Linked DNA regions of Homo sapiens: regions 1, 2, 4, 5 and 6 are each linked to region 3. The links are contacts of gene promoters, found by promoter capture Hi-C in blood cells and fetal thymus (Javierre and others, 2016). All regions are on one chromosome and are shown on one strand. The core of a region is centred on a gene start or on the middle of the fragment in contact, and the rest is flanking DNA. Distances in the headings are between cores, read along the strand shown.

Region 1 (3,845 bases), core at 307-2,806, 270 kb after region 3:
CCCCCTCCCCCCCACCTCCCGTGAAGCCCAGACAGCGCCAAACCCGCCACCTCTCCAACAGCAGCTGGTACACCCATTTCCCAGCACTCCCAAATCACAGAGGGTCGGCTGGGGGATGGGAGGGTGCCGGGGCGGTGGTGGGGAAAGTCAGGGTGGGAGTGTGCCGCCCAGATTGTTACCAAATTGCATGCCCCACCCCCGCCTCCTGGTTACCCTTTCCCAACCTCCCTGCTGGCCTTCTATGCGCTGCCACGTTTATTTCTCTTCCCTCCTCCTCTCAAAACAGGACGGAATGTGGGGTGCGGGCCTGAATATTATAAACAAAACCAAAAAACACTGGCTGGAAAGGAAGTAAGCGGATTCTTCGTAAAGTCTATCAAAAGTCTTTTCGTTTCCCCCTCCCCCTTTCCCCACCGCCCACCAAAATGAGCCGCGTTTGAGCACCTCAGGTCTGGAAAGCCGGCCAGGAGTGGGGGAGACCGAGGCACCCGCGGCCTCCGACTCCCGCATCCCTAGATTACCCCTATTCAGGGGTCCCAGACTGTGCCCACCCTCACACCCACCTGCCCGAATCTGGGGGAATTTTCTCCTCCTCCTCCTCGCCTGGGTTAAACGCACGGCAGCGAGCTGCGCAATAGAGTTGGTACCCAGAGGAGGACGGAGAACGACGGTCAGGGCTTTAAGTACCTTTGCCCACGTCAGCTCCTGGTCACGTGAGGGCTGCATCGCCAGTAAGCTTGGGTCCCCAATTTCCACTCCCACCAAGAGTACGAGCCCCCTCCTTTACTTCCATTCCCATCTCACCCCACCACATCAGGTCCTGTCACTCATTTTTTTGTCTTTGTAGTCCTGGAGGCCTAAAGTAGCCCCTTCTCCCTGCTTTCACAATTTGCCTTTCTCTGGTTACCTGGGAGGGGCTGCATCTTCTCGGAGGGCTACTGAAAATTTTTACTTTTTTGTTGGGGAATTGTTTCATCCTTTCCTGGGCTACTGGACACTCTTCCATCTCTCCACCTCTAGTTCCTCAGCCCCTAGTCCCCAGGATTTTCCTTGCAGTTGACTCCCTGTTCCAGTATAGTTAAGGGGCAGAGTGTCAGAAAGGAGACAAGGAGTGGGAGTGGGGTCTGTACTTCTCAAATACTTCTGTTTTGTTTTCAAAACTATCATCATGCTTTATTTTTATAGTAAGAAAATTCAGTAAAACAAGAATTCAATGTGGGAAGTAGCAACAAAAAAAGGGTGGGCATGTTTTGTAAAGAAAAAAGGTTTCCTGCGTCCATTGGAAAGCACCATTAATTTTGGTTAATTTTTACCGAATAGAACATGAATTCTTTTGGTCACATAGGAAATAGTTTTTAAAATATGCTAAGGTATTTGAACATCTAAAATGGAATATTTCTCAATAAGATAAGCATATTTCCATGTGATCTGTAAATTGATCCACAGAGAGATGTTCAGTTCTTCAATCTTGTTTATTTTGGACAAATAATACGCTACTTTTTTCTCCTTCTGGGACAGCTTTTAAGTTGCATAAATAAATGATCCTGTCTTGTCCTGTTAGAGAAACACATTTATTTAATATTCCCAAACCATTGCTGACTGCTGTGTGTGAACCTCCTGTAATTTGATGGCTGTAACCATGACAGTTTTAAACACCTGTCTTCGGATTAGGTTCCAGTTAATGATTCAACTCTGGGCAAAAGGAAGAGCTGTGAGGCCAAGGAAACTGAGTGTGGTGGGTGCAGAGTGGTCAAATCCTCCCTGCCCTGTCAGGAGGAGGAGGGAGATGCTGTCTCTCTACTCCCTCCCATATGCCAGAGCCGCTCATCTCCTGCATTCAGGTACCTGGCTCAGTTGCTCACACCCAAAATATATCCAGACAAGTGACCAAGATGCAGACCTGGTTAAATGTCTTTGGCTCTTTCCGTCCCTCCCCCAAGTTCCCAGAGGAAACCCATTGATGCATAGAAAGGATTGCTGTTCTTACCTGACCCTGCAGCTGACGATTTGTGAAACCTGTGATTTCACAAAAAGGTTTTTGTGATCACACAAAAAGTGATTGTTGGGGGAAGTTCCCAGGCCTGACTGCTGTCTGTCCTTATTCGTGGTTACCAGTGAACCTTGCTCCAAACACTGTCTGCTACTACCACTTGGCCTAAGAGATGCATCCTCCTGGGCCTCTCACTTCTGCCTCCTTAGCTCCAGGGGACCTAGGAAGAGTCTAGCCTTCCTGCAAGGTTACTGCCTGCCAGTACACATCCACCTTGGTGCCCTCTCAACCAAATGTATGCCCAGGGAACAATCCCCACTGATGAACCCAGAGTAGGTGTTCTCACCCGGTCAACTCTGTAGACCACCTGAAATTGCATTCACCTGCAAAGCTTTGTTTGGGATTATATGTGTGGTTAAATGCATTTTTTTCAGGAACAGAGATCACTGACCTCATCAGTTTCTCAAGGGGTCTGTAACCCCCGCCCTGCAAAAAATTAAGAGCTAATACAATGGCCAAGAGGGTCTGTGTTATATATATATAATAGTCCAGATTAGGAATCTTGTATTTTGTTCTGGTAATACAAGTATTATATATTAGTGGTTAAAAATATTCAAAACAATAAGGAAATATATAAAGTATACAGGGAAAGAAACTTTTGTTATCTTTTCCACTCCCAGCCACTGTCAACAGTTTCCAACTTTCTTTTTAGACACATTAGTAGTGCGTTTGTGCTTATTAATCAAGTTCCAAATTTTTGTGATCTGTTTTATTAATTCTAATTTAAAGTGATACCTTTGGTTTATCTTGGTATTATATATAATCATTTGTAAATGATGATTTTTCATTTCTTCCTTTCCAACATTTATGCCCCCTTTTCTTTCTTCTTCTGCATGAGTCATTCTTGGTTAAATTAGACATAAACGAAAATATCCTTAACCTGATGAAGAATATATCAGAAGTTCTTCTGATCTGGCAGATTCGTCCCTCCCTGTGGTCTACCAAGATCACAGAACTTAATGACTGGCATTGACTAGAACTTCCTTACGAGCCTCCTGATCTTGTTCTTGAAGACAGTGGGAATGCCTCTTTTGTTTCATTATTTAGTATAACTTTTGTTGTTTGTGATTGATGTATTTTTTTTTCAAGGCTAATTTCACTTATGTTTACTAGTCCCTCTCTTTCTCTCTGTCGCACGTGCACACACACACGTAGTACAAAGAAATACTATCAGTGAATGGAGGCAAGTCATTAAGTTCTGTAATCTTGATAGTCCAGAGAAAGGGATGAATCTGCCAGATCAGAAGAGCTCCTGATATCTTCTTCATCAGGTTAAGGATATTTTCTTTTATATCTAATTTAATTCATCTAAGAACGACTCATTAAATTACGTATAATTCTTTACTACATAAATGAAGTTCCCTCTTATTCCTATTTTACTTTTTTTTTAAATTAGGAATGGTTACTTATTTTATCAAATGCTTTCATTATGAGGTTTCTTTTCTTCTTTGGTTTGCTGTTGTCAGGAATGATGTAGACAGGCCAGTCTCCCTGTCACTCTTCTCTTCCTATAGTTTATTCTCAACATATCCAGACACATGTCCCTTGTTCAAACTCCCCACCCACTTACTGTGTTGTTTAGAGGAAATATAAATGTCCTTATTATAACTGACAAGGCCCTACCCTGTTCAATCTTACTACTTTTCTGCCTAATCTACTTCTCTCTCTCTATCTAACTCACCCTACTCAGTCATCTTGGCTTTCTTGATGTTCCTGGAATATACTGGACATGTTCCCTTTACAGAGCCTTTTCAGTTGCTCGTCTCCTTACCTGGGATGTATTTCCATCCCACAT
Region 2 (3,884 bases), core at 755-3,254, 420 kb after region 3:
CTTTCCCAATGTCTAAAACTTGTACTTTCATCTGATTTATTCGCTACTTCAGGAACTGCCAATCAACATGCCTCCTAGCCTAGGACAGGATTTCTTCTCCACAAACATCATCACTAAGGGGAGTTGTCTAAGTATTTTCCCATGTGGGCATGCCAAAGTTCAGCACAATACCAGAAAAGTTTACAACTATCATTTCTTACCCACATTGCATTGTAGAAGCCCACATCTACAATAGAAGCTGCTGGGTATACTCTGGGCATGTTCGGTGGCTGAATTTCATTGTTGCCACTTATCTGGATATGTGGTTTATCTTTGGCAAGCCTGGAGCTGATCATCAGTAAAATGAAAATAATGATGCTTTCTTTTCAGAGTTGTTTTAGGGAAATGAGAAACCCATGGGAGGCTTTAGTGCTTACTATCTTAGCCTCACCTTGCCTTCTCTGCAGAAGAGATGTCTGTGATAGAAACTAAATGCATAACTCTAAGAGAGAACAGTTGGGACCCTAAGTGTACAGAGGGAAATGTGATGTATTAGCCATGGTGACTGTCCAGTATTGTAGGATGAGTTACCTGAGGGGCTTTGGAAGGGAACAGAAAAATCCTCATGCCATTTCCTACCATCATATGTGCTTTCCTGTCCTTAGTACTTTGTCTTTTATGTTGTAAGGGAAGAAAGACTCTAAGAGGTGCAAGATAAAGAGATTTCCTTTGAGTCTTGGAATGAAGAAACAGTGCAGAGGAACCAATCCTAATAACAGATCTGCTGTACAGAAGGCTGCAGTCAAAGGAACTGTGTCCTGATAGCAGTCCTGTCACTTCCCCCCAAACAGATGTCTCTTCTCCAGAAATGCTACTATCTATCTTTGTGGGCATATATTAAAGTAGAGAAAAAATACTATAACAGAATACACCAAGATGTTAATTGTGTTTACCATGAAGGGGCAGGAGTGCTGGATATATTTTCTTGTCTGTATTTGACACTATTTTCCACATGGTCCAAAATGAGTGTGGATTACCTTAATAATAATAAGCAGAGCCTAAAAAAATGTACTTTAACTAATAAAGAGCACCCGGTCTGGAGATGCAGTGGAAGAAACAGGGCTTGGCCAGGTGAGATCTGGGCAGTTACTTTAGATCCCTGAGCCTCAGGGAGCCTGGAGCTTAATTCTTCACCCACAGGGCTCCCCTGGGGTGGGAGATGTGATGAAATCACCACATTGTCCACATACGGGCTCTATGCCGTTGTATTGATTAGTGACTGGTCCCTTCATGCTTTACAGAGAGTGACATTGTGGTATCCACTGCTTGAGTCTGTGGTCCCACTGCACACTATGACCCCATTTCCTTGATCCCAGCATTCTCAGCACAGTGTGATTCTCCAGGTATTATGTAAAGGATAAGGTGCTATTTTGCTTTGTTTGTGTTTGTTTTTATGATCTGCATTGGTGGATCTCAATGTTTGGTCCCCAGACCAGCAGTGTCAGTATCACCTGGGAACTTGCTAGAAAGTGCTAATTCTTAGGCTCCATCCTAGACCTACTGAATCAGAAACTCTTGTGGTTGGTACTAGCAGTCTTTTCTTTCTTTGTTGTTTGTACAAATTTATGGGGTACCTGTACTCCCCAGTTTGCCACAAGGTCCAAAGTGATTCTGATGCAAGCTGAAGTTTGAGAACCATATTCTACAAAATTTAATGTAGTAAATGAAATGTGTTAATTGCTGAGTTAAGGAATGAATCTTTATTTTATTTCCATACTTCTTCATAATCTCCATTCAAAGTACAATTTGTTCATTTTGTGAAATGAGTATTTTTTTCATTGAAAAATAAAATTGAAATTGAAAGTCAATCAATGCCATCTGTTGACCCAATCTAGAACTGCAGCTTGGATATCACTTTAGCAAGAGATCTAGGAAGGAGGGAAGGAGGGAAAGGAGGGCTGTGTAAGCCCACCAGAATAAACTTTCTGGAAGTTATACGGCAGACAAAGCACTAAGCAGAGATGGCGACAGAGCCCATGGGTATTAATTCATGTGACAGGATGTTTCCTTTGACCCCCCTCTCAAATTAAACACAGTTGAGTGAATGTGTATGTGTCGTTATAAATATAATGTGGTGTATAACCTCCTTTTTATGTTATCTGACATTTAATATCTTTTAATGTCCAGAACTATATATTTTTTCAGCATTAGTTTTGTAAATCAAACTACAACTAGGTTTATTCTATGCTGTCATAATTGTATCTCGGTTATTTTGCGAATTAAAAATCAGTGAGCTGTATGTATTCCCCCAGCTCTTGAAAACACTGGAGAAATATACAATTATAAGAGGCATTGTCTTATGTTTCCCCTATTACTATGACCTTTCTCAAGATAATAATTCAATTGATTTGTAAATATTCTCTAGATTTGTTTCTGTGGGTTCATTTATATTTTAAAATATGACATATGTGGCTGGGCGCAGTGGCTCACGCCTGAAATCCCAGCACTTTGGGAGGCCAAGGCAGGCAGAACAACTGAGGTCAGGAGTTCAAGACCAGCTTGACCAACAAGGAGAAGCCCTGTCTCTACTAAAAATACAAAATTAGCCGGGTGTGGTGGCGTGTGCCTGTAATCCCAGCTACTCGGGAGGCTGAGGCAGAAGAATTGCTTGAACCTGTGAGACAGAAGTTGCAGTGAGCCAAGATTGCGCTATTGCGCTCCAGCCTGGGCAAAAAGAGCAAAACTCCATCTCAAAAAAAAAAAATGACCTATGTATATCCTTATGGAAATATATGTCATTCAAAAATCATGCCATGTTGTATGTTATGTTCTGTAACTTGCTTATATATTTCTGCATCTCAGTGCTTTTTATTAGATTTCTTTAATTTTTGATGTGTTTAAGCAATTTTACATATGTTGATTGCCATTGCCTTCATTTTTTTCTTTAAATTACCTGTTGGTAGACATGTACACAACTCTTTTAGATAGTAGTTTTCCTTATATGTCAGGTATATTAATTATGTCTGTAAATTATAGTGCAAATGTGTCCAATGCAGAGCCCTTCCTCCAGTGTCCTAATAATGAGCAGACACTTTATGGATGCTCTCCTGGGAAGGGGAGGTCTGGCATCCATGCTGGACTTACCACTGCCGAACTGAATGGTCTCTTCTGCCTTCAGGGAGGTGACAGTACTGGCACCCACGGTTTATTTGTGAAGTCCTGGTCACTGCCCTAGGAGCATTACATCTGTGCATATTGTGACCTCTTTTCTCTGACCCTAGGCAGTTTTGTCCATCAGCTCTCTCAGCACAAAGTTTAGCCAGTTAAATAGAGTAACTCTTAATATGAATTATATATTTTAAAATAAGAAAGAAGTAAATGGCTATTTCAAGATAAGGGTAATTATTATTTATTGAAAAGAAGGTTTCATAACCAGCATTGAAAGTAGCATTTTTGAGGTTTATTCATTTTGCCAAATTAATACATCAGTATATTAACTGTCCAGTCTGCACTCCCACCCCAACCAGAAGATATTCATTATTAATAATTTGATATATATTCTGTTGACTTTTCTATGTGTCTTAATAAAATGCACAGATATTTTTCCAAATGTAAAAGTGTACTCTTTTACAAACTGTGATTGTCCTCTGCATACTGTGTTGATATTTATCTGTTTCATGTAGTATGAGAGCTTGTTTCACATTTCATCATTTATATCATTGGGCATATTTTCAAATGTTCACTGGGTATTGATGTTACTTTCATGTACATTCTCTATTGTAATCTTCGGCCCGTTTCTCTGTTGGTTAAAGTATCAAGGATATTAACCACATAGCTGCAATACAGATTGCAACTATTTTCTTCCAGCTTTTTATATACTTTGTACTCTTAAATTTTGCAATACA
Region 3 (4,031 bases), core at 1,297-3,796:
GAGCTAACAGACTACAGTTTGTTTTCAGTTCAGGGAGGTAGGGCAGTGAGAGGAGCTTCTCCTTGAGATTCAAATAACCAATATAATCCTAAAGACATCTTGTGAGAACTTTCTAAGAGCGGAGAGAAGAGCCTGGTATTAAAGCTTCTGGGTTTCCAATGCTCTCAGATTGCCCTCAGCCACTGCACATGAATCTCCATAGAAACTGAAAGTCACACGTGGCCCAATTGTTTCAGGGTCCTCAGAGGAGTTCTCCCTCCTCCTTCCCCTCCCCAGATGGCTTCATGCATAACCAAGTAGCTTTGGAGTCAAATATGTCAAGGCCTCTTTTCTAGCTTCTTGCTGAGCACTGTGTCACTGAAAATTCTAGTTCTTCCTTATTTTCAGTAGTTAGCAATCAGATCTCAGCAATCAGATCATTGTGGGTGTAGAAGGGGGTATCTGATAACTCTTTGGAGAACGCCCAAACTTTGGTTTTCGAAAGCTGTATCTTCCCTTTATACCTAAGTCACTTCCTGATATGGGTCTAGTCCACTGAAAGGAAACTCTATAGGAAATTTGCTCAAATGGAAATAGCAAATCATAGTGATAATTTAAAATTGCACCAATCCCCCATAACTGGATGGAAAGTTACATTAGTTCGCACCATAAGGAGTTTACAAAGAATTCCAGGGTGGGTGCGGTGGCTCACGCCTGTAATCCTAGCACTTTGGGAGGCCCAAGCAGGCAGATCACCTGAGGTTGGGAGTTCGAGACCAGCCTGACCAACATGGAGAAACCCCGTCTCTACTAGAAATACAAAATTAGCTGGGCGTGGTGGCACATGCCTGTAATCCCAGCTACTTGGGAGGCTGAGGCAGGAGAATTGTTTGAACCCGGGAGGCGGAGGTTGCGGTGAGCTGAGATCCCGAGATCGTGCCATTGCACTCCAGCCTGGGCAGCAAGAGTGAAACTCCGTGTCAAAAAAAAAAAAAAAAAATTCCAAACAAAAATATCAATAGCCATACGCAATGGAAATTTGGACTTCAACACAAGCAAGCAGTTTAAATAGTTTGAATATAAAAGGAGTCAGAATAGACAGGACAAGCCCTAAGGGACACTGTTTGGGTATAATGCTTTAGGTTGCCATGAGTATTTGCATTTTGTGGCTTATTTGGAAAGTGACATTATTTTATCAAATAACTGAGGCTCCAGAGAGGCTGGAGTCTGGGCAACTTATCCAAGGATGTCTTGATTGGGGTCACCAATCACTTTTATTCTAAATGTCATATTATTTGCTCTAGGTAGGCCCTCTGGGGGACATTGGCAGGTCTGAGGCAGAGTAAAAATTATAGCAAATACTGAGATCCAGCACTTACTATTGCCAGGCCCTGTTTTAAAAGCTTTACATGTATTTGCACATTTACTGCTCACAACCACCTTATGGGGAAGGTGCTAGGCAGGCAGGGAGGAGGAAATGGAAAGGGAAAGGAAAAGGGAAAAGAGCGGGGGAAGAAAGGAGCAAGAAAAAGTCAATGCAATTCGGCAATTATTTGTTAAGTGCTAACTGTATGTCAGGGTCTGGTAATCAACAGAACAGAGGAGGGTATAATGAAGAGGGGATATAGGTAGAGAAAAGAGGATGAGTGGGAAGAGGAGGAGGTTGGAGAGGAGGAAAGGAAAGGAGAAATAATGAAGACAAGAGAAAAGCAAGCCATGCACATGGAGGGCAATGGTAAGAGGAGAAACCTTTGCCACAACCTCAAGGGTTGGCCGCACTGTCTGGGCTGAGGCAGAGGCTGCTTTCTCCTGGCCCAGTCTTTTACCCATTGTTACCACGAGGTTGGCACAGCTTCCACACAGTCCTTTAATAAGCCAGCTCTGACCCTGGCGACATTTGGCCTGGTACAGCTCAAGGCAGGTAGCCTACACCCTGGCCTAGCCAGGCCTTTCCCTAGCTCACAAAGGTCAACTTCATAACGTGGAGCGTGAGCTTTTACCATGTTCTCAGAGAATCTGCCTCTTAGTATTTCTTTTTCTAAAGGCTTCATTGACCCATGTATCCCTATTGAGTCTTCAAGCACTATTTGACAGAAGGGCTTGTTTTTATCTGACTGCTCCCTGCAATATTACTTTTCCACTAAGTTTGCCAGAGGTACCCCTTTCTAACATTTGCTACCTGTTCGGATGGTCACCTCATGTCACATTTTTCTCTTCCTGTTCCGCCCACCCTCAGCCCTTGTCGGAAAGGACCCTTTCGGCCTCTCTAATCACCAGAAGGGACTGCCAGGGCCTTGTGCTGATGACACTCCCACCCTCCGTCAGCCTCCTCCACTAGCTGATAAATGGCACCAGCCATGCTGTCTCTCTGGTTTTTAGGGGTCCCAAGCAAGGTACATTGCTGCTGCTGCCCAGCCCCTGCCATACCCCAGACCCACCTCAGTCCTGACTTAATGCAGGTAGCTTCCCAGATGCATTGAGATGCCAGGACTTGGAAGGTGGGACTCGATCGCAGCAGACACTGGCCCTGGAGACATATTCTTACAGTCCAGAGAGGAAGGACAGTCTGAGCAAACCCCACCCTTTCACAGCCACTCAGTTCCCTTTTTTTGCTTCCTGACCTAAACCAATGTCTTTTTTTCTTCTCAGCAGCATGCTATCTGGTTCCCTGCTGCCGTCCCTATTCCACCCCCTCAACTGTCCCCGCCCTTCATTTGCTTGGGACCTCTGACACTACTATCTTGAGTCTATCTTTGAAAGAACCTTTCTCAACATGACTGGGGCCACTGAGACTCTAGATGGGGCTGGCCTGAGCAGACAGGTCATCAAGCTATCCTCCCAGAGGTAAAGGGACAACATACCTAAAGTACTATGAAGACAGTCAGCACAGGGAGAGGGGCTTACAGGAAAGAGGAGAGATGCTGGGGGCTGGCAGACACAGAGCAAAGAGACTGGCCAGGAAGAGCGTTTTTCGAGTCTCCTGTCCTCCGGGGCAGAGGAGTCTCAGGGACACACAGTTGAACTTGATAGTGAAGGGACCCCAAAGGACAAAACAAGACAGAGGTAGAGACAAGACTTCCCCGTGCTGAGTCATTTTCTAAGAAAGCATTTTTCCCCTACAGATAAAAATGTCGGAATATAAGCCCACAGAAATACTTGTGCCCTTCCCCATTTTCTGTGGATGTTGACTTTCTCCATTTAAGATTTGGCCTCAGGGATTAACTCTCAATGTCCACCTTTCTCTTGAGTCCTGTAAACCGGTAAAGCAGACTAGGTATGTCACTTGAAGCCTGGAGGTTTTCTCAGGGGCCCCCTACATTATGCTCCAACTGCAATGATTCCCCCAGGGATTCTCCTAGGAAATGCAGCCAGTATTGAATGCAGACCATGATGGTGGAGCCCCTGCTGACTGATCTGCCTGCCCACCTTGACACCTCGGGCACTGCCATATTTCCTTGCCCCAAGGCACTGTATCCTAATGTAGAAACAGATCACAGGTCCCACTACAATTTCATCCGAAGTTTTAAGTCAACAGGACCTTATTTTTTTTTCTTTATTTTGTCTAAAAAACAAACAAACAAGCAAACAAAAAAAATGGGGTATATGTGCAGAAGGTGCAAGTTTGTTACATAGGTATATGTGTGACATGGTGATTTGCTGCACCTATTGACCCATCCTCTAAGATCCCTCCCCTCACCCCCAAGCCCCAACAGGCCCTGGGACCTTTTTTTTTTTTTTTTTTTTTTGAGACAGGGTCTTGCTCTGAAGCCCAGGTTGGAGTGCAGTGGCGTGATCATGGCTCACTGCAGCCTCCACCTCCTGGGCTCAAGTGATCCTCTCACCTCAGTCACCCTAGTACCTGGGACTATAGGCACACATCACTGTGCTGGGCTAATTTTTCTACTTTTTGTAGAGATGGGGTTTCACTATGTTGCCCAGGCTGGTCTCAAACTCCTGGGCTCAAGCGATACTCCTGCCTTGGCCTCCCAAAATGCAGGGATTACAGGAGTGAGCCACCTCTCCCAGCCATCAACAGGACTTTAAATAAAAAC
Region 4 (3,643 bases), core at 434-2,933, 330 kb before region 3:
CACATCTGTGTGCTGTAAAATATTGTTGCTTTAATAGAGTAAAATTTACAGCAAAGTGAACCTACCGAGGTGGGTGCAGTGGCTCACGCCTGTAATCCCAGCAGTTTGGGAGGCCGAGGCGGAAGGATCACCTGAGGTCAGGGGTTCGAGACCAGCCTGACCAACATGGTGAAACCCCATCTCTACTAAAAATACAAAAATTAGCTAGGCGTGGTGGCGCACGCCTGTAATCCCAGCTGCTCAGGAGGCTGAGGCAGGAGAGTCACTCGAACCCAGGTGGTGGAGGTTGCAGTGAGCTGAGATCATGCCATTGCATTCCAGCCTGGGCAAAAAGAGTGAAACTCCGTTTCAAAAAAAAAAAATAGTGAACGTACATTTAATGATATTTAATTTTTATGCTTAATAGTAATTGTGCTCAAGTGGAAAACACTTTGTAGTCAACATTTCATGTATTAATATTTATTCAAAGCATAACATGCCTATTATGTGCAAGGCAATGTGTTAGCCTTAGTGAGTACAGTAGTAAATTAAACAAGGCCCAATACTTCAAATAGCAGCAAACATTGAGTCAGTCAGAATAGGATTCAAAGCCCAGATCTGCCACTTATTTTCTATTTTTCTGTTTTTTGAGACAGAGTTTTGCTCTTGTTGCCCAGGCTAGAGTGCAATGGTGTGATCTCGGCTCACCGCAACCTCCGCCTCCCAGGTTCAAGCGATTCTCCTGCCTCAGCCTCCCGAGTAGCTGGGATTACAGGAGTGCACCATCACGCCCAGCTAATTTTTGTATTTTTAGTAGAGATGGAGTTTCACCACGTCGGTCAGGCTGGTCTCGATCTCCTGACCTCAGGTGATCCGCCTGCCTCGGCCTCCCAAAGTGCTGGGATTACAGGCATAAGCCACCACCCCCAGCAGATCTGCCACTGATAAGCTGTGTCCACTGAGCAAGTTATTTAATTACTCAGTGCTTCAGTTTCATCATCTGAAAAAAAATGTCCACAATAATTTTACCTACCTCATACGGTTGTGACAACGATTAAATGAGTTAATACACACAAAGTGCTTAGAATACAGTAAGTACACAAAGTTAGCTATTATCATTCAAAATAAGTTGATATACTGTGTGTTCATACATTCTGAAGAAAATAAAAATATTTTACCCCAAAATAAATGTATTTGCCATATGTTTGAAATGGCTGCCTCAGGACCAGAGGACTGAGATGGGGGAAATTTGCATCTGTAGAGAACCTCCTTGAATACAGCCAAGCTTCCCATTTCTATGCCTTACCTGGATCCAGGAGAGATTGAGAGTCTGACATCTTTAAAAGTTTGAAAAGAAGCATTTACCAGCTATTCTTTCGGAAGGAGGCTTCCTCTACATGACAAGGCCACCTTCACAAACCAAGTCTCTTCCTTTCTTCCATAACCTATCTTGCCACTAAAACCTGTTTTTGTATATACTCTGAGTTCGTCCACATTCTTTCTGTAATTTCTTACTTTTTTTTTTTGAGGTGGAGTCTCGCTCTGTCACCCAGGCTGGAGTGCAGTGGCGCGATCTCGGCTCACTGTTGCAAGCTCCGCCTCCCGGGTTCATGCCATTCTCCTGCCTCAGCCTCCCAAGTAGCTGGGACTACAGGCGCCCGCCACCACGCCTGGCTAATTTTTTGTATTTTTAGTAGTGACGGCGTTTCACCGTGTTAGCCAGGATGGTCTTGATCTCCCAACCTCGTGATCCACCCGCCTCGGCTTCCAAAAGTCCTGGGATTACAGCCGTGAGCCACCACGCCCGGCTTTTTTTTTTTTTGAGATGGAGTCTCGCTCTGTCACCCAGGCTGGAGTGCAGTGGCGCGATCTCGGCTCACTGCAACCTCTGCCTCCCGGGTTCGAGCGATTCTCCTGCCTCAGCCTCCCTAGTAGCTGGACTACAGGCTTGCACCACCACGCCCAGCTAATTTTTGTATTTTTAGTAGAGACGGGGTTTCAACATGTTGGCCAGGATGGTCTCGATCTCTTGACCTCGTGATCTGCCCGCCTCGGCCTCCCAAAGTGCTGGGATTACAGGCATGAGCCACGCCTGGTCTCTTTCTGTAATTTCAAGATGATATATAAGCTTCTGTTAATTATTGGGAGGTTGGGTCTCCATGATGAAGGCTCCCATGTGTACATGTTAAATAAATTTGTATGCCTTTTCTCCTATGAATCAGCCTCATATCAGTGATATTTTAGTGAACCTTCAGGGGCCAATGACTTTGGCCCCCACAACACACACACACACACACACACACACACACACACACACAAACACACACGTGTATGTTTCTTGTTTTTTAAAGAGAGATTTCACTTCCATCCTAAACCCTTGAGGAGGTAAATGTTTGACTCAAATTGCCACTATCCTAACTGCTCTCATGGCTCATAAGCAAAATTTGAACTCAAACCACTGCTTCAGCCTTCTAGGCCCATGCAGGGCTATCAAGTGAGACCAGGCCAGAGAATTTACCTTTGGCTCTATTTTCCCTTTCTCATCTTTTAATCCCCTCTTATATGGCTAGACAGCTCTACACCTTTTATCACCTCCTCTTCCCCTTTCTTCCCCTTCCCAAGCCCTTCTGCTCCTTTATCACTTCTCGTTTTGGCCTTCTGTGTTGTGCCTAGCACAGAATCAGGTGTCCCATACGAGCTCAATAAATATTAATATTTGATTAATTAAACTGAATTCCATCTTGTCTGCTGAAAGAGAGAAGGCATTTCCTCCCTCACCCCCACCTATTTTGAGCATCCAGGCAAATTCATTTAAAGCAGGCCTGTCATTCAAGGAGGAAAACCCTGAGGGGTAGAGAGAGAAAAGAGATTAAAGCAGCTATAATGTAATTATTTAGCCATTAACCCCTTTATATTTATTTAATCTGGTAAAGCATATTCTACTATAAAAGCGAAATCATTACATTTGTAAGAGGGGAAAGAAATACCCCGTATTATAGGAAAGGTTAGACCCTTCAACCAGAAAGTCAGTAAGTGGATATGTCATAGATGATAAGGAATATTGTTAACTCAAATAAGAGCTGGAACCAAGATAACCTTTTACTTAATTTTGTTATTAGCAAACCAAATCACAACAAAGTGAAATCCCTAGGAATTTGTCAAACATTCTCATTTTGGTGCAAGGAAAAGATAGCTGAGAGGCTACAGCATTCGCTCTCAGAAATAACATATTAAAATTTACCAAGCAGGAGCATCGCCATCTTGGACAAGCACCACAATTCTAAAGTTCTCCTTGATCAAAAACCACCTAAGGCCGGGTAAGGAGGCTCATGCCTGTAATCCCAGCACTTTGGGAGGCTGAGGCGGGCAGTATCACCTGAGGTCAGGAGTTCAAGACCAGCCTGGCCAACATGGTGAAACCCCGTCTCTACTAAAAATACAAAAAGTAGCTGGGCGTGGTGGTGCATGCCTGTAATCCCCGCTATTCAGGAGCTGAAACAGGAGAATTGCTTTTTTTTCTTCTTTTTTTCTTTTCTTTTCCTTTTTTTTTTTTTTTTTTTTTTTTTTTGAGATGGAGTTTCACTCTTGTTGCCCAGGCTGGAGTGCAATGGTGTGAATTCAGCTCACTGCAACCTCCGCCTCCTGGGTTCAAGCAATTCTCCTG
Region 5 (4,028 bases), core at 694-3,193, 490 kb before region 3:
TAGGGACTGGGGTGGGAGAAATAGAAAGATGTTGGTCAACATGTACAAAGTTTCGGTGAGGATGAATCAGTTCTGGAGATCTATTGTACAGCATGGTGACTATAGTAAATAATAATGTATTATATACTTGAAAATTGCTAAGAGAGTAGATCTTAAATGTTCTCACCACACAAAAATGGTAAGTATATCACTGTTGGTGAGGATGTAAATTAGTACAACCTCTACAAAAAAACAGTATGGAGATATCTCCAAGAACTAAGAAGGGAACTACCATTCAATCTAGCTATCCCACTACTGTATATCTATCCAAAGGAAAAGAAATCATTGTATAAAAAAGACACCTGCACACATATGTTTGTCACAGCATTATGTGCAATAGCAAAGACATGGAACCAACCTAAGTGTCCACCAACAGTTGATTGGATAAAGAAAATGTGGTGGCGATACACCATGGAATACTACACAGTCACAATAAAGAACAAAATAATGTCATTTGCAGCAACATGGATGCAGCTGAAGGCCATTATCCTAAGTGAACCAACACAGAAGCAGAATATCAAATAGTGCATGTTCTCACTTACAAGGGGAAGCTAAACAAATGGCACACATGGACATAAAGATGGGGCAAATAGACTCTGGGGACTCCAAAGGAGGGAGAGTGGGAGAGGAGGAAGGGGTGAAAAATTACCTACTGGGTACAATGTTCAATATTTTGGTGATGTGTACACTAGAAGCCCAGTCCTCACCATTACACATTTAATTCCCATGTAACAAACATACACATGTACTACTTGAATCTAAAATAAAAATTTTTTAAAAAGTAGGCCGGGTGCGGTGGCTCATGCCTGTAATCCCAGCCCTTTGGGAGGCCGAGGCAGGCGGATCACAAGGTCAGGAGTTTGAGACCAGCCTGACCAACATGGTGAAACCCCATCTCTATTAAAAATACAAAAATTAGCCTAGCATGGTGGCGCATGCCTGTAATCCCAGCTACTCAGGAGGCTGTGGCAGGAGAATTGCTTGAACCCGGCAGGGGGAGGTTGTAGTGAGCCAAGATTGCGGCACTGCACTCCAGTCTGGGCAACAGAGCGAGACTCTGTCTCAAAATAATAATAATAAGTACGTGAGATAATTATATTTAAATTAGCTTGACTTGGTCATTTCACAATACATACAGATATCAAAACATCATGCTGTACACCATAAATATATACAATTTTGTCAATCATACCTTAATAAACCTGAGGGTGAAGAAGCACATGTTAATGTCATAAATTGCATCTTTAATATTTTGATATCTGCATTTGAATGCATTTATGTTTTTTTCAGCCTGTGGTGTAACCATAGCTCATTGCAGCCTCCACTCCCGGGGCTCAAGCGATGGCAGGGGAGTAATCAGCCTCCCAAGTAGATGGGACCACAGGTGCACAGCAACATGACCAGCTAATTTTTAAATGTTTTGTAGAGGCAGTGGGGAGGAGTGGGATGGGATGGGGGGCTGGTCTTCCAATGTTCTTCAGACTGGCTCAAACTCCTAGCCTCAAGCAATCCTGCCACCTCAGCCTCCCAAAGTGCTGTAACTACAGGCTTACACAATTGGTTTTGATTGTAATCCTATGTATTTTATTTTGGGTATTAAAAGCATGACTCTGAAATGGGTTCACCAGTTGGCCAAAGGGGACCATGGCAAAAATAAAGTATAAGAATTTCTGAGTTAGTGCAAGTTCAGACAGGAAAAAGTGAATATCCTGGGGTATAATTACTTCTGGGATGTAAACACCTGAGTAGGATCTTTCAAATAATAACTAATCACTCCTGAGTATGTATTCCTGATTAGAATAATTCGGATGTTAACTAACCACCCCCAGAGTGTGGATTAAAACTAATTAACAATGAATTGTAAAAATTGTTTATCAGTATGAATAAACATTACCGGTTTCTCCTCCACTTCAAAGTATATACTAAATCCACCCCTTCTTCCTACCTCCACTGTCCCCAGCCTAGGCTGGTATTTCAAAAGATCATTTCATAGACAGACACAATATTTTGTTAAATAATTAATTCATGAATCCAAAATGTCATAGGTTGTAAGACTCATCATTCTTTTCTGCACCCAGAAAGAAAATTTGCTGTTAATTAAATTATGACATATTATTAATGGTAAAATTCATCCTAATTTCAGAGGTGATTAAAAGTGAAAAAGATATGCATTTTAGAATAGATGAAATAAGGTATATCACACAGCTGGTACTGAAGCATTTTGAAGCAAATTATGAACAGTATACATTGCACATATACAGTATAGCATGGTAAGGAGTTTGGATTTGATTTTCTTCACACTTAGGTAAAGTCGACATTTCCGTTCTGAAGCCTGCTGACCTGCCACAAGATGGCGAGAGCTCCAAGGAGACACAGGGAGAGGCAGCAAATGGAAGTGAAGGCCAGCACCACAGGTGAAAGATCAACAACAAAAACAATGATGGGTCTGTCTTGCGGGGCCTCCATTGGGTCTATTTCAATGTTGGTAATAATGAATAGAAAGCAAGCACTTCAGAGAAGCAGAAAGATGAACATCTGATGTTCCATTCTGCCTTGTGTATACTGGGGTATACCCTCCAGACACAGGTTCATGGGCGAGATCACTTGGTTAGTGTAGACAGCTGACAATGTAGACTCATTAGCAATCAGGCTGTCAGGGCTGTTTAACATGTTTCAGAACCTTCCTCAGCCACAGGCAGCCAGGCAAACTTGAGAAGTGGCTCATAACAAGACAAGGCTTGCCACAAAGGGTTGCTCATTCCTGCTAGGCAACCCATTTGTTTTAAGCACAGGGTATGTAATAGGAAAAATAATAGGATGTGAGCTGTGGTGTATTTCTGTGGGATGAGTGGTGAGGGAGGTGAAGTCTCTCCCAGGCCATAAAACTCAGAGTTACCAATTTGGTCCACACTGGCTCTGTGGAAAGATATAAAAAGACCTGGATTCCCTCACACATTGCTGCTGGGAATGCAAAATTGTATAGCCCATTTGGAGGGGAACTTGTTAATACATAGAGCAATCTCACTTCCTGGAATCTATTCCAAAGACATACTGGAAAAAAATGCAGAATGACATATGCCCAGTGCTATTTATTGGCATTATTTATAATATTAAAAGACTGAAAAAACCCAATATAACCACATAATGGAGTAATACACAGTTGTAAAAAGGAAAATAATTCTCATATATTCACATGGAATGATCTCTGGATGTATGAAGTGAAAAAAATCAAGGTAAAGAACAGTTTTTATCATGTATCATCTTTGTGTACAAAAAGGGAAATACACACATACATGTGTGGTTATACATATATTTGCTTATATTTTTAAATAAGAAACATTAAAAGTATGAACCACAATCTTACAAAACTGGGGGAAGGAGGGAACAGGATGAAGTAATAGGAACGGAAGCTAAATTTCTCTGGATGTATCTTGTTAACTAGTTTCATCTTTGGAAGCATAATTAAAAATAAAATTAAGTGACCAGGCACAGCGGCTCACGCCTGTAATACCAGCATTTTAGGAGACTGTGGCAGGAGGATTGTTTGAGCCCGGGAGTTTGAGGCTGCAGTGAGCCGTGATTGTGCCACTGTACTCCAGCCTGGGAGACAGAGTGACACCCTATGTAAAAAAATTATTAGAAAAAATTTTTAATAATATTAACTCAAAGGGAAAATAAGAATCAATCCCAAAAAACTAAAAACAAACTGAAACAAATGAACTTCACTGTTTATCAAGTTGGTGGCATAATCATACAAATAGAATACCTTCAAATTACTTTAAAACAATATTTTGACCGTACATCCCTAATGATATATGATCTAAGGACAAAATGAAGCACAAAGAAATCTTAAACTGCTTTCCATAGTCTTAATGTTAATAGTAATATTGGTATTGTTATTTTTAAATTATTATTGGTTTGTTTAGAATTAAGCAAATAAGTATGAAGTTAATATACTTAGAAACAAAGATTGTCAGGGTAAGAGAAAA
Region 6 (3,660 bases), core at 85-2,584, 380 kb after region 3:
TGTAGATTGCTTTGGTCAGTATGGCCACTTTAATGATATTAATTATTCTTTTCTGTGAACATGGGATATTTTTCCATTTTTTTGTGAATTGACACTTTTGAGAGTAAAAGGTGGTCTGTGAAACAACAGACATAAATTGAAACCACATCAAGCCATATGCTCATCTTCTTATATATTATGAACATTAACTCAATGTCTGTAATACACGTGCATCATTTTTTCCCATTTTATATTTCTTTTTATCAGCTTTTGCAATGCAAATGTTTCAAATTTTCATTTTATTATTAAAAGACAATGTGGTTAATTATAAATGTTTGAAGAATACACTAGAGTGGAGTAATTTGCCAGTCTAATGTGAGATAGACACAGAGAGCATTCAAAGCCCATAAGGCCACAAGATGCAGTGAGAAAAGCTTGGGTTTTAGAAAAATTTCAGGCTTAGACTACCTGGTCTGTAATTTAGGATATTAATGACCTAGGTGGTTTGAGCTCTAGGTAAGAATGAAGATAGTAATCTTTACTTTGAATGTTTGTTTTTGGGATTAAAGGAGATGAGATATAAAGTTACCACGATGTAGAATGATTTTCTTGTTCATTTCCATCCAGCAGATCACCTCTCCAGTCTTTTAAAGCCTGAGCTTCTGCCTGAGCCCACTCACCACTTCAGGGATCTGCCAACTCATGTGGCCCTACACCCAGGTCTCTTTGCGCAAAGGGCAGGATTTCAACTCCTCTATCTTCTTCATCACCCAAAGGGATTGTGGAGTGCAGATTTGTGGGTCCACAATAGCAGGGGAGTGGAATCTGACCATTTCTCAAGCCCTGGAAGCCCATCTTCTAAGAAGGAGGCTGCTCAGGGTTTTCTAGGGAGGGTGAGGGATGCAACTGCATTCCTGCCTCTTACCAGATGTGTGACTCTGGAAAATCGATTTATACTCTGTGAGCCTGAACTTCTCCACTGCAAAATGGGAAACAATTGATACTGTCCCCACAGAATTGTGTAGGGAAAATGAGGGAACTTAAGGAAATGTTTGGTGCATAATATAACTTCAGCAAATGTTTGTTCTGCTCACCATGACTCCTCACCACGATAAAAGAGACTTCGACATAAAAGAAAGAGCAGAACTGTCAGAGCATTTGGAAATGTAGCAACAAGAAAGGAAATGTATAGGCATTTACATAATGTATGAATTTGGGTGCCATCTCAGTTGTAGAATGTTATCAGAAGAATTTGGAGAAAGGGAAGACAATATTGTACTATTTCCTTGTATTCTATTGAATTTCTGTCCCTGTTACTTCACTTTCTACTTGAACATCTGAAGAAATAGTTTTCCAGTAAGTTCTGGAAAAAGGAGACAGTACAGGGGAACCAAATATAATAAGGACCATTGGATCTTAGATGAGTCACTTCCTCTGTGCTGGCCTCATCTCTAACACCAAGTCACATGCAATATAACTGGTTAGGGGGTTTGGGCTTTGGGTGCTATTGTTTTCTGGTTGCATGACCTTTAGCAAATTTTTTAACCTCTCTGAGACCCATTTAAAAATATTTCAAATGGCTGTTATAATGGCAACAACATCATTAGGCTGTACTGAAAATTAAGTGAGAACATGCATGTACAGCATTTAGTAAAGTGTCTGGCACTAAGTAATCAATAAATGTTATCATCATGTTCCTTTATTATTGGCTTTTTCAAGACCATCAGAAGAATAATAAAGGGTTTGGGGCTGGGAAGAATGTAGTGTTTCACCTTAGATGACAGGTTCTATTACGCTGCAGCATTAAAAGGGTTCAGTGGTGGTGCAAGAACTGACATACATATTAATGGGACAGAATAGAAAAATAAGAAGCAGAACCAAGTGTACAGAGACATTGAGAATTTCATAAATGTGGCATTTGCTGTTACTTAATAATTCATAGACGCTAAGAATTGATGTTGGGTCATTTTAAACTGTTCACTAACAAAAGAATGGGAAATCTTATTCTCATGCCATATGATATAATGTGAAGCATTAGTACACACCACCACCTATCTATCCAGTATGATTGCAGTTCCATAAAATGGGTATGCAGCTGTACACATATTTGCATGTATGTGTATATTTCTAGTTTCAATGAGATTCAAGAAACTATGAACACTGTTTATCAATGAGAGTATGATTGGAAGTTACTTGTATCTTTTTATACCTGTCTGTACTTTTGATAATATCCTAAATGGGCATGGATTATTTTTACAAACAGAAACAAAGCCTGTAAAAGCTTTTAGTAGCTAGGGAACACAAGGGAGTGTGATAGGTTGGAAAGAGAAAATGTTTTGGGGCTATACATACCTTGTGTTCTCCTCTGGCTTTGCCCATTGCTAGGGGGTGACCAAAAGGTAAGGTACTTAACTCTTCTGATTTCCCATTTTCTTGTTCTAAAGAGGAGGAAAGTAATCCTTTCATTGCAGAGTTCTTGAAGTAATCTGATGGAATTATCAAAATATAGATAAATATGCTGTGCTTTATATTAAACTGTACTGGAGATTCCATCCCAGCTCTTACCCCTACAAGTTTCTTCACCCTCTGAACTTCAGTTTCCTTATCTTGGAATTGGTTATAACATTGATCTTGAAATAGTATGTATATTAGCTGTCCAACACAGTGCCATAATAGGCACAACTCCCCCTATTCCAGGTAACTATTTCCAAGAACATTATATATCCTAGTAATATAAAAGAAAGAGGTGATTTTTTTTTATGACTGGGGGCCTAAGAATTGGTGGTAATTCTTATTTTCTTCAAATAATCTTATTTTTTCCATTTAATTAAGTATTTTATATCCTGAGGAGCCTTGATCCAGCCATTCTGTTCTGAGGAATTTATCTTACAACAAAACATGTTTCAAGAATTTCCTATTTGAAACCATGGTACAACCATGGTGATTGTGCATATATTTTTGGAACTTTTGTAAGATTTTCCATAGGATAAATTCCTGAAAGTAAAAAATTTTAACCAAAACATATGGCATTGCCAAATGCAGATTTAAAATGTTCAATACCAATTTCTAATCCCATGCACAGTGGTGGTATTTCCTTTCCCTGAATTCATCTCATCAGTTAAAAAGGGGCTTAGGCACTTTGACACTGCAATTCCTGTTGCAGAAATTTGTCCTGCAGGACAGTCTGTACAGAGCTATATATTGCAAGGCTTGGAGTTTACCCTGTGGTTGAAGCACAGGGACCAAGGAAAAAAAGTGTTGAAGATCACTGAAGTGAAATAGTTCAAGTGATGAGTCATGCACTCTAGGCTGGATCGGGAAGGAGCGTGCACATTTTAGGGGCCTGATACACTGAAAGGCTCAGGGGTTGGGTTCCATGGTTCTTTCCTCCCCTGTTCTCGTCTCCTCCCACTGGAACTCTGCGCACTCCTCTGTGTCAGGCCCTGGGATTGCTGCTATACACAGTTTTACCTCCCTTAATCCTCACAACATTTTCAGCTCCATTCTCTAGATGAGAAAACTGAGGCTCTGACAGGTATTCATCGAATCTAAGACGCCACACTATTTTAGGGACTACTAGGAAAAGCAAAATTCTGGCTATTATAATGGTAAGACAGCACTAATTTAGGTGTTAAAAGTGAAAAAATATATGCCTCTGAGACACGGGGAAATGTTATAGCT

The links. Contacts are between HindIII fragments. The CHiCAGO score rates a contact against its expected background, and 5 or more counts as called.
Region 1: a contact is called between a fragment that was not itself captured here and the fragment with the promoter of BTK in region 3, in 2 of 17 cell types (M0 macrophages and monocytes). The highest score is 6.0, in M0 macrophages.
Region 2: a contact is called between a fragment that was not itself captured here and the fragment with the promoter of BTK in region 3, in 10 of 17 cell types (monocytes, activated CD4 T cells, neutrophils and 7 more). The highest score is 9.0, in monocytes.
Region 4: a contact is called between a fragment that was not itself captured here and the fragment with the promoter of BTK in region 3, in 1 of 17 cell types (total B cells). The highest score is 5.3, in total B cells.
Region 5: a fragment that was not itself captured here is called in contact with the fragment with the promoter of BTK in region 3 in 1 of 17 cell types (naive B cells); the score reaches 5.5 in naive B cells.
Region 6: a fragment that was not itself captured here is called in contact with the fragment with the promoter of BTK in region 3 in 4 of 17 cell types (M0 macrophages, M2 macrophages, naive CD4 T cells and 1 more); the score reaches 6.3 in M0 macrophages.

Annotation. Positions count from the first base shown.
Region 1 is chrX:101,659,195-101,663,039 of GRCh38, forward strand. ARMCX2 (armadillo repeat containing X-linked 2) reads right to left here and starts at 656. Exons shown (of 6, transcript NM_177949.4): 1 at 564-656; 2 at 225-307. The HindIII fragment of the contact is 1,645 bases long and covers 735-2,379 here.
Region 2 is chrX:101,801,794-101,805,677 of GRCh38, forward strand. No RefSeq gene overlaps it. Among named protein-coding and RNA genes, the nearest start is that of ZMAT1, 130 kb to the right of the region's middle. The HindIII fragment of the contact is 4,080 bases long and covers 1-3,884 here.
Region 3 is chrX:101,383,645-101,387,675 of GRCh38, forward strand. It overlaps BTK (Bruton tyrosine kinase), which reads right to left and starts at 2,547. Exons shown (of 19, transcript NM_000061.3): 1 at 2,418-2,547. RefSeq lists an enhancer at 1,814-2,033. The HindIII fragment of the contact is 7,609 bases long and covers 1,381-4,031 here.
Region 4 is chrX:101,052,642-101,056,284 of GRCh38, forward strand. No RefSeq gene overlaps it. Among named protein-coding and RNA genes, the nearest start is that of TRMT2B, 2.4 kb to the left of the region's middle. The HindIII fragment of the contact is 843 bases long and covers 1,263-2,105 here.
Region 5 is chrX:100,893,164-100,897,191 of GRCh38, forward strand. It overlaps a transcript of XKRX not described here. Among named protein-coding and RNA genes, the nearest start is that of NOX1, 21 kb to the left of the region's middle. RefSeq lists an enhancer at 2,230-2,731. The HindIII fragment of the contact is 6,104 bases long and covers 1-4,028 here.
Region 6 is chrX:101,761,456-101,765,115 of GRCh38, forward strand. No RefSeq gene overlaps it. Among named protein-coding and RNA genes, the nearest start is that of ARMCX2, 100 kb to the left of the region's middle. The HindIII fragment of the contact is 1,847 bases long and covers 412-2,258 here.